2 separate regions of the Homo sapiens genome follow, and region 2 is linked to region 1. The links are contacts of gene promoters, found by promoter capture Hi-C in blood cells and fetal thymus (Javierre and others, 2016). All regions are on one chromosome and are shown on one strand. Each heading gives the region's core, a stretch centred on a gene start or on the middle of the fragment in contact. The rest is flanking DNA. Distances are from core to core; before and after follow the strand shown. Region 1 holds the start of LRIG2 (leucine rich repeats and immunoglobulin like domains 2). Region 2 holds the start of CTTNBP2NL (CTTNBP2 N-terminal like).

Region 1 (5,506 bases), core at 114-2,613:
AACTGCCTCCTTTTTTTTTTTGTAAGGTTCCTGCCTATGCCGGATTTCTTACCAGAGTTTGTTAAGTCTGCTCAACAGCTAAGGGAAGAAGGCTAAGAGTAAGTTTCATTCCGCTGTCTTGGCTTTAAAAGTTTGGTTTGGACTGTAGCATTGGATATGGCCTTGTTTCCAATATATACTTCAATATTAAAAAAAAAAAACAGAAAAAGGTTTTTAAAAACATAATTATGACTCCATAATCTGCCATGGGAAAGATTGCTTTCAGTTACTTTCTATGAGAACCCTAACCTAGGCATTATCATTCTTTTTAACCTGCTCAGATTTTCAATTTATGTCAGAAAACCCATGTTAATGTCGAACCTGCCCCTGCCTCAAGAGTAACTTGGTTTAACCTCTTGGGGCTTGTTGCATCATCAGCAATAATTGTCTTGCCAATGTCACAGTCACTGAAGGAGCAAACAAGATAACAGATGCAAACGCCCTTTGAAAAGTTCACTACGTATAAGTGAACCATCACTATTATTCTCAAAGTCTTATTTACAACCTTGGATGGCTGAATGAGCATAAGATGGCCAGACTTCACTGTTCCTAGTAAGTTTTCCATAGCCTCTGCTTTAGGAGAAATAAATTTCCTCACATCCAGTCTTTGCTTTGTTGACTGCTCAACACCCTCTTGTCTCGCTTGCTTTTCTGAGAGTGACCTTGACAGCATCCCTCCAAAGAGAAGGGTATTTCCTTTATATAGACATGCAGGTGCAGTCCCACCAAAATTTATTGAACTCCAAGCTAGAACAAAAGGTGGAGGTGCACCGATGAAGAAACAGGGCCTCTGCCTTCAGGAGCTTACAAGGCCATTAACAGAGAGTGATATTGATCTTATGCAAATGGCAGTTGCCGCCTACTTGCAGAAGAGCAGGGGCTACAGCCAAGCAGCAGGGGGCAGAAGAGGCTCGAGCTCGGCTCTGGAGGCCGATCTGGCCAAAGCCAGGATAGAAGCTCCCGTGACCCATTCGTGTGTGCGACTTGGAAGGCAGCCCTTCTGCCACTCCCCTTTCTTAAAGCCCAGAGCAAATAAAAGATCCTTTTCTACTACAGTAGATATACCTGTAGTCAGGACTTTGAACTCACAGCTATTCGCCGCACCATTCCCTCTTAAGGAACTACTGCGCCCTCCAGCGGAAGAACAGCGGCGGAACTCCACAGCGGCAGCTAAAATCCCTGAACGCTTTAAAGTCCTTCTCCTCAAGATACTCGGCTGCGTCTGGCCCCGCCCCTCACTGAGTTCCGCCCCGGGCGCAACCTCATCTTATGGCACCGATTGGCTGGCCCCTGTGCGTGAGGACGTTGCGCCGTGGGGAGGGGCGGACGAGAGGTGTCCGTCAGGCCGTGTGTCCCAGGCCGTCGACCCCGCTGTCGCGCTGCGTCTGCTCCTTGCATGCCTTTAGATGGTACAGCCTTCAGCCGGGGCTTCGGGAGACAGTGCAGCCACCGAGCATCTCTGCTGAGCTTCTCCGCCGATCCTCCTTTTCTAGCAGGCAGCTCTTCTAGGCCACGTCCAGGTCGAGGGGGAAAATGGCGCCGGCGCCCCTAGGCGTCCCGGAGGAGCAGTTGCTGGGGTGTCGATCTAGAGTGCTTTCTCGGTTACTCTTCATTGCCCAGACCGCTCTCCTCCTGTTGCCCGCCGCCGGAGCAGGTCTCTGCCCCGCGCCCTGCTCCTGCCGCATTCCTCTCCTGGACTGCAGTCGCAGGAAATTGCCCGCACCGAGCTGGAGGGCGCTGTCGGGCTTGCTGCCCCCCGACACCGCTATCCTGTGAGTAGAGCGGCCAGGCAGAGTGACCAAAAGGAGGGGGAGCCTTCCCTCTACAGGGGGCAGGCAGGAGGGAGACAGGCCTGGTCGGAGGGTGTGGTCGAGAGCCTAAGCTCTGAAGGAAACTGCCGTCAGGATTTTATGAACTTTGTTTTAGGTGGTGGGAGCCTAAAAAAGCCGGTGTTAAGGTTTCTGGAGAATTGTATGAAGACGAGGGTTAAGATTCTTGGGGCCAAGGAGTCTGTGATTTCCTCAACTGGGGAGGAAATGGGGCGGGCATATTTAATGGTAAGGACTCACGGGTCCTGGGCACCAGCATTGACTTTGGATGGTTGGTGGGGCGGGGGGTGGGTTGAGCACGGAACAGTGCTTTCTGCTTATCTTGAGCTGCATGATTTGGTGTGTACCTCAGACTTAGTGGTCCTCAGGCACGTGATTTTATAATCACAATCGCCAAAGACCTATGAACTGTCTTTAGTCCTTAGTTCGCATGTTGGCTGATTTTGTGCTGCAGTTTTGATACTTAACAGGGTTGAAAAGTTCATTATGATGAATCAGGAGATCCTGTAATTCAGAATATCTTTGTAAGTAGCATTCTTGATCTAATTTAAACTTCACTGTAAAGAGGAGGAGTATTTTTTGCAGAACCATTTGATGCTTTGTTTTCAGCGCATCTTCTTGTGGCAAAGAACCCAAAAATCAGTTCTGCTTATTTATGTAGGTAAAGCAGGTACAACGGTTGAATGAATTCTGGAGTTTCCACTGTTGAGTTTTCACTTTGACAGGTCTTTATTAGACAGTGGAACTTGGAGGGCTCCTTAGTCTGAGTCAGCCTGGTGGTATTAGGAACAACAGCAGGTATTAAATGCTGCAATTATGGGGCTTCTTAACCACTAACATACAGTTATTTCTCGTCACTAACTGAGCAGCACGTTTATTAACTGACAGATTTCTGATGGAGTCGTTAAGAAAGAGTCATCAATGGGCCAGGCGCGGTGGCTCACGCCTGTAATCCCAGCACTTTGGGAGGCCGAGGCGGGCCGATCACGAGGTCAAGAGATCGAGACCATCCTGGCCAACATGGTGAAACCCCGTCTCTACTAAAAATACAAAAAAATTAGCTGGGTGTGGTGGTGTGCGCCTGTAGTCCCAGCTACTCGGGAGGCTGAGGCAGGAGAATCGCTTGAACCCGGGAGGTGGAGGTTGCAGTGAGCTGAGATCACGCCACTGCACTCCAGCCTGAAAACAGAGCGAGACTCCGTCTGGGGGGAGGGAGGGTCGGGGAGGAAGAGGGGCCGGGTGCGGTGGCTCACGCTTGTAATCCCAGCACTCTGGGAGGCTGAGGCGGGCTGATCACCTAAGGTTGGGAGTTCGAGACCAACCTGACCAACATGGAGAAACCCCATCTCTACTAAAAATGCAAAGTTAGCTGGGTGTGGTGGCGCGTGCCTGTAATACTAGCTACACCCTGAGGCAGGAGAATCACTTGAACCCGGGAGGGCGAGGTTGGAGTGAGCCGAGATCGTGCCATTGCACTCCAGCCTGGGCAACAAGAGTGAAACTCTGTCTCAAAAAAAAAAAGAGTCATCACTAAAAAAATAGGTTGAAGTGCAATTAAAATATGAGAGGCTGCTTGGATTTTTATTGGAAATAGAATACAAATAAGAGGTGTTGCGGAGTTTAAGAAGTATTTATATATTTGCAAATAGGTTAGCACAGATAGGAAAGAAAGCTACCTCATGTAGTCATTGAAAAAATTAACATAAATAATCAAATCTTTTAGTAAACATAGAACTGCAGTGTAGTAAGATGCTTTCTCTTTCATGGTAGTGACACCTGTAGTCACTTCTGGTTTTATTGACCCAAATTTAAAAACTCCTATCAGTGTGCAGTGTAGTGTCAGTTAAACCTAGCACAGCCTCTTTGTTATGCAGCAAGTGCCTTTTTCTAAGACATTCTTGGAAGAGCTACCTGATTATAACAATAAGTCTGGCACAGATTTGACAAAACAGCTTCATTTAGCTGTAATTGGAATGAATGTGGCCTATACTTTTTTTTTTTTTTTTTTTTGAGATGGAGTCGCGCTCTTGTTGCCCAGGCTGGAGTGCAATGGTGTGACCTCGGCTCCCTGCAACCTCTGCTTCCCAGGTTCAAGCGATTCTCCTGCCTCAGCCTCCCAAGTAGCTGGGATTACAGGCGTGCGCTACCATGCCTGGCTAATTTTTCATATTTTTAGTAGAGGTGGGGTTTCACCATGTTGGCCAGTCTGGTCTTAAACTCCTGATGTCAGGTGATCCACCCACCTCAGCCTCCCAAAGTGCTGGGGTTACAAGCATGAGCCACCAAGCCCGGCCTGGCCTACTTTTTTTTTTTTTTTATTTAAGAGAGAGTCTTGCTCTGTCACCCAGGCTGGAGTGCAGTGGCACGATCTCGGCTCAGTGCAGCCTCTGCCTCCTGGGTTCCAGTGATTCTCCTGCCTCAGACTCCCAGGTAGCTGGGATTACAGACTTGAGCCAGTATGCCCACCTAATTTTTGTATTTTCAGTAGAGACGGGGTTTCACCATGTTGGCCAGGCTGGTCTTGAACTCCTGACCTCAGGTGATCTGCCCACCTTGGCCTCCCAAAGTGCTAGGATTACAGGCACGAGCCACTGCGCTTGGCCACAGCCGGGCCTACATTTAAGATTCTCCGTTGGTTGGTAAACATTTAGAAGTAATTTTATGTAAGATATATTTTTGTGTTAAGGTTTGATTTTTGTTTAATCAAGACCAATTGCCTAGAGCCAAGTGACATTCAGAATTTTTAATGTCCTATAATGAAATGACATTTTCAGTTGAAGTGAAATGACTTAGAGAACAATTCAGTTGTAGAAATGTAATTGGATGGAAGTCTTACATTGGTAGAACTCTTAGAATATTAAAAGATAGTACCGTACTATTTTAAATTGAGAAATGAAACATTCTTCAGCAGTTGCCTTTAGCTATAAAACCACCCAGTACATTTGGGTTTCTTTATGTAATTTTGAATGTTGAAATACATGTAATGCTTTAAATATATTAGGGATTCAAATATATGCTCAAACTTGTGACCATCAAAATGATTATGGACAAAATTCATTAATACTGATTTTTGGAAACATACTCAGATACTGTCTTTATGCTTCTCTGTATGAGAAACTCTCTAGAATATTATTTGATCATTCAGAGCTTGACTGGGTTCTCTGTGGGTATAGAGCTCTGTTTCACATTATTCTGATTACACACACATACACAGCATTGAAAGACTAGGTTTATGACTCAACTTCTTATTTTGCAAAGTAACTTTGTTAGAACCCCTTTCCCCCAATGATGTGTTGTCTTGGTCATTTCATGATAGTACCAAAACATTAAGAAGTATGTATTTTTAGGGTTAAGGACGCTTCTATAGATTATATAGATTTAGCTTTATGAAATAAAAGTAACCTTTTCCTTACTGTTTTATTTCACTGTAGACTGTTAAATTTTTTTTCTTTTTTTTTTTGAGATGGAGTTTCTCACTTTCGCCCAGGCTGGAGTGAAGCAGCCTGATCTCGGCTCACTGCAACCTCTGTCGCCCGGGTTCAAGTGATTCTCCTGCCTCAGCTTCCCGAGTAGGGATTATAGGTGCCCTCCACCATGCCCAGCTAATTTTTGTATTTTTAGTAGAGAAGGGGTTTTGC
Region 2 (5,168 bases), core at 2,503-5,002, 680 kb before region 1:
TAAATGGAGTTAAGTGAGAAGGTTACTTTGCCAAGTAGGTTTGTGTATCGGGTCGAATGATGTCCCCCCAAAATTCATGTGCACCCATCTCAGACTGTGAATTTATTTAGAAATAGGGTCTTTGCAGATGTCATGAGTTCAGATGAGGTCATGGTGGAATAGAGTAGGCTCTAAGTACAACATGAGTGGGGCCTTTATAAGAAGAGGAGAGGACATACAGAGACGCTGAGACATAGAGAGAAGGCCATGTGAAGACGGAGGCAGGTATTGGGATGATGTAGTTACACGCCAATGATCACTGGGAACCACCAGAAGCCAGGGGAGAGAGGCATGGGATGGAGCATCTCTCAGAGCCCCCAGAAGGAGCCAACCTTGTCAACACCCTGATTTTTTTTTGTTTGTTTGTTTTTTTGAGACAGAGTTTCGCTCTTTGTTGCCCAGGGTGGAGTGCAGTGGCGCGATCTCGGCTCACTGCAACCTCCATCTCCTGGGTTCAAGCGATTCTCCTGCCTCAGTCTTCCAAGTAGCTGGGATTACAGGCACCCGCCACCATGCCCAGCTAATTTTTGTATTGTTAGTAGAGACGGGGTTTCACCATGTTGGCCAGGCTGGTCTAGAACTCCTGACCTCAGGTGATCCACCCACCTCAGCCTCCCAAAGTGCTAGGATTACAGGAGTGAGCCACTGCACTCGTCCAACACCCTGATTTTGTACTTCTAGCCTCAAGAACTGAGACAGAACACATTTCTGTTGTTTTAAGCTGCCCAGATAGAAACTACTATAGTTGATGACAGAATAAGAACTAGACTCCAGATTTTTTAACCTCTAGCCTAGACCTCTTTTACTCCATTGCTGCCTCCCCAAACCAGCAATAAACATTTATGGAAATTTACTTATTTGGAAAAAAATTGACACAATCTATAATTTTTAAGCACTTTAAGTTGTTGCCTGACACAATAGGCATTTAATAAATATTTTACTGTCCAGTTGATAAAATGATAGACATTAAAATGTTATATTTTGTTATACAAATCTAAGATATTGTTATGAACCATTTTTTACCTCTGCGTACACCTATGCACCAGACTCTAAATTTATTTACAAGGTTTATGTATTGAAGAATCACAAACCTCCATAACTCTCTCACTGCTACAATCTGAAAGATACACGAGGTTCACAAGCCCTGCCTGTTCCCTACTTCTAGGGGTGAAAAATTAAAAGGAAAGCAATCTGAACACCCTCAAGACTCTGAATCCTACAAGGCAGGGATGTTCTCATTTTTGCTGAGTCCTTCTACACTCATTTAGGAATACGCAGAAGGGAAGCCAGGAAATCAGGGGAGTTGCCCATTGCTCTAAAGGAAGTAGGTCACAGAGCACTGCTCCCACCCAGTCAGCCAGGGAAAAGAATGGGTGGTGGTGGGTTAACAGCTACAAAGGGAATGAGGGAAAGAAAGGAGGACCTGCCGGGCATGGTGGTTTACGCCTGTCATCCCAGCCACTTTGGGAGGCCAGCAGGTGGATCACCTGAGGTCAGGAGTTTGAGACCAGCCTGGCCAACATGGCAAAACCCCATCTCTACTAAAAATATAAAAATTAGCTGGGCACAGTGACAGGCGCCTATAATCCCAGCTACTCGGAAAGCTGAGGCAGGAGAATCGCTTGAACCCAGAAGGCGGAGGTTGTAGTGAGAGATTGCGCCATTGCACTCCAGTCTGGGAGACAGAGCGAGACTCCATCTCGATAAAAAAAAAAAAAAAAAAGAAAAGAAAAACAAGGGAGGAGCTGATTCACTAGAACAACTCTTAGAGTGACTCAGAAGCCAGCAGAAAATAGCTTGTTCTCCCACATCTGCTTCATTGTCAGGCGATGAGGCACTTCCTCATTGCATACACATAGGCAGAGCGAAAGGGAGGAGGAGGAAATGGGATTTTTCAAGTTCCTTTGCCTGCTCCAGCACCTAACACTCTGTATTTGTAATCATTTCAGACATTTTGTTTCAAGTCAATATTTATTGAGTACCTACTCTGTGCCTGGCCCCTCATTTTAGCTTTCAGATTGTCAGTTTTCAGAACACAAGGCATAATGCCTTTCTGAAGTTCAGTATACCCTGCATCATTACTCCAGATTCACTTACACTGCTATCGAGCACCTTCACTCATAGTCTTGCTATCCTTCATATACAGAGATGACCCTCCCAAGCCTAAAATCAACAGGGGGAGGCATAGAGCTGTCCTTCTGGCTCTAATGTTTGCTTTACCATCATCCACGCCCATTCTTAGTCCAGCATGTGAGAGCCAGTGTGAAGTGAGCAGAATATGGCATAAGTATGGAGTCATACATCCTTACTGGAAATTCTTTACCATTTACTAGCTCTATGACTTTATTTGACTTCTCTGAATCTCTATCTTCTCATCTGTAAATTGGACACAATGATGTCTATCCTACACTGTAGGATAGATTTCTCATACAGCACTGAAAATGACATCAAATACCATTAAATGAAAGTACATGGCACAGTGATAACATGATAAATACTTGTTTACTTCTTTCAGACTATAATCGCACAAACTGATCACATCCCTCAGTCAGACTGTAAACTGCATGAGGCAGGCTGCATCTGCCTTGGGGACTGTCTGCCTAGGCAAGCACTAGGTCCCTAATGCTGTCTTGCGAATTATAATTGCTAAGTTTAGGGATAATGTATTAAGTGTACTACATTATTTATGCATTATGAATATTCGTCTCAAATATTTATTATATTGTATTTTAAATAATGTGGTTATTGTAAATGTAACCAGCTGCATCAATCTGTGAGCTGACAGCCATTCTGTGGAAAAGGAATTCAGAAACTTTGACCTTAGGTAGGGATACAACTAGTTATACATCCACTCCCCTCTCTGAGTTATTTGGTCCTGCCTAAGACTTGCTGCCACCAAGATCTGCATTCCTGTGTTCACAAGGCAGACATTCCTTGCATCCTCTGTACTCTCCATTGTTTCAACTTCACTGCAAACACCATTCCCCACAATATAATGAGGCCAAGGAAAGAAAAAAGTCGCCTCAGCTGGCAAGCATAGGGTGGAAAAACCTGCCACACAAATTTGCAATTATTTGACTTCCGCCTGGAAGGCAGGTCGGCTGGGTTTATGTCCCCCAAAGTTAGTATCCTCTTCTGTACAAAATGTGGTTGAGAGAAGGGTGATCTCCAGGTGTTTCATCTTTGCACCCTTGCTTCCAGCACCACGCCCACAGGCGCTTCCAGAAAAAAGAAAAAAAAAAAGGGAGCAAGGAAGCCAGGTTTTTCAACAACGAATTCATTCTAATGCAGACACCAAAGCCCACTTCATTTATTAACATTCTGGATAAAATCCCAATCGATTAGGCCACCAGAGCCCTCCATTCCTAAACTCCGCGTACAGTCAGGTAAAAGCACGAAGCACTAGTCACGGTCCTGCCCAGACTTTTCACGCAGAGGTGGAAAGTTGCAGACCCCGAGCCGGGAGGGGCGCGAGCCCACCCTGAAGCCCAGGACCCAGGAGGGCGCTTCCTCCCGGAAGTGACGCGAGCTCAATCCCGGCCTTGCTCTTCCCAAACAAAAGGGATCTTGGGGCCCCGGGAGGAGCCTGAATGACTTTGGAGAAGCCCCGCCTCCAGCCGGCGCGGATTGGGGCCGAGGCTGGAGAAGCAAGGAGGCGATTGGCGCTGGTGAATGCCAATGCCCCCGCCGGGCGGCTGAGGGGGCGGAGCCTCAGCCGCTGTGGATGGGGAGTGGAGGCGGAGGGGAGCGGAGCCCGGAGCGTCGTGGAAAGGTAGGAGCAACTATCCCTGGGGCTTGGTGATGGCTGGGAGGCCGGGTTCTCAAGAGCAAAGCAAGGATAGGGGCACCGGTAGCCTCCCGCCGCCGTCTCAACGGCCTCTGGGCCCATCCCCTGAGGGGGCGGGGCCGTCTCCTCCACCTCCCGGTATTCCCCGAGGAGGCGGCTCCTCATCCTCCGAGGGTCCTCACAGCTACTTTTTGTCCCTCGTCGATTCCCAGCTCCTCAGAAGGGGCTTCCCTCTGACACCCCTCATTCAAAGGCACCTCCCACCCCGCACCTCAGCCTTGGCGGAGAGGACTCACAGGTACCGATTCTCTAGGCTGCCGCCCCCAACCCCATTTCGTACCCCCGGAAGGCCAAACATCCCTCCCTACACCTGTCCCTGCTCGCCAGGGTGGGACTGGAGCTGCTTTCCTCCGTAAGATAAAATTGGTGTTTCCCAAAAAGGAGGGATGGGGCGAAGCAAAAATCAAAGACCGACCTAGACAGCCAGCTTTACGGAGGAAGCGGCTTCTCCCACTTAAGTTCTTCCCATCCCCCATTCTCTGATGCTCAGTCTTCCTCCCGCAGCCCCTCGCATCCTCTGGCCTCTTGTGAGGAGTCGAGAGCTCTCCTGTTTTGGGACTGTTTTGGACTGTGAAAGAGGGAGAACTAGGACCTCCTCTCCTTCACCCTTTGTACCTTCCTTCTACTTTCTGTTCCTTCTGGGAGCACCCAGCCTCTAAGGGTTTCTTAGGTTTGAATTGCGTTTCATTTTTCCTTTTCCACCCTATTTCCTCCCTGAGAACTTGATGAAAAGCCATCTTATATTTCACAGTGAGGTGGGTGTGTTGGATATCTGCAGAGCTGGCTTTGTGTGGGCAGGAATGCAGTATATGTTGCTTGACAGTCAATGAATAACACCATGTTTTCAAATGAAACAGTATACATAAGTAAATAAGTAGCAGTGGATTAGGAATGAGTATATCCCAGTCTAGGGTGGGCTGGTCCATTGCTCAGGGAGACTGCAGTTAACCTTGAAGGTATACTGCAGGTTGAAACAAAAGACAGGAAGTGTTTGAAGAAAATTCAGGGTCAGTCATCTAGGTTTATGATTAATCTAGTCCTATGTCCTTTGGTAACTCTCTAACCCCTTTTTTATAGTGTCCTCCCCGCCCCCAGGAAACATTCATGTATATTTTGATTGGTTTTACGATCATCTATCAAAATTTAGAGGATGAAAAGTAAGAACAATTTTTAAATCTCAGAGATAAGAGTAAATAAAGGCAAGGTATTCTAGCTATTCATGTTTACCAAAAAGTGCCTCTTCTAGTGTGCTCCTAAAGGTTTTGTCAAGTGGTCTTCATTT

The links. Contacts are between HindIII fragments. The CHiCAGO score rates a contact against its expected background, and 5 or more counts as called.
Region 2: the fragment with the promoter of CTTNBP2NL here is called in contact with the fragment with the promoter of LRIG2 in region 1 in 2 of 17 cell types (neutrophils and non-activated CD4 T cells); the score reaches 9.3 in neutrophils.

The regions. Positions count from the first base shown.
Region 1 is chr1:113,071,835-113,077,340 of GRCh38, forward strand. It overlaps LRIG2 (leucine rich repeats and immunoglobulin like domains 2), which reads left to right and starts at 1,364. Exons shown (of 18, transcript NM_014813.3): 1 at 1,364-1,811. The coding sequence starts at 1,573. LRIG2-DT (LRIG2 divergent transcript) reads right to left here and starts at 1,268. Exons shown (of 3, transcript NR_103777.1): 1 at 1,105-1,268. RefSeq lists enhancers at 835-1,084, 1,143-1,676, 1,335-1,644, 1,677-2,208, 1,825-1,884 and 1 more. The HindIII fragment of the contact is 20,110 bases long and covers 1-5,506 here.
Region 2 is chr1:112,392,462-112,397,629 of GRCh38, forward strand. CTTNBP2NL (CTTNBP2 N-terminal like) reads left to right here and starts at 3,753. Exons shown (of 6, transcript NM_018704.3): 1 at 3,753-3,811. RefSeq lists a silencer at 3,951-4,000. The HindIII fragment of the contact is 10,453 bases long and covers 1-5,168 here.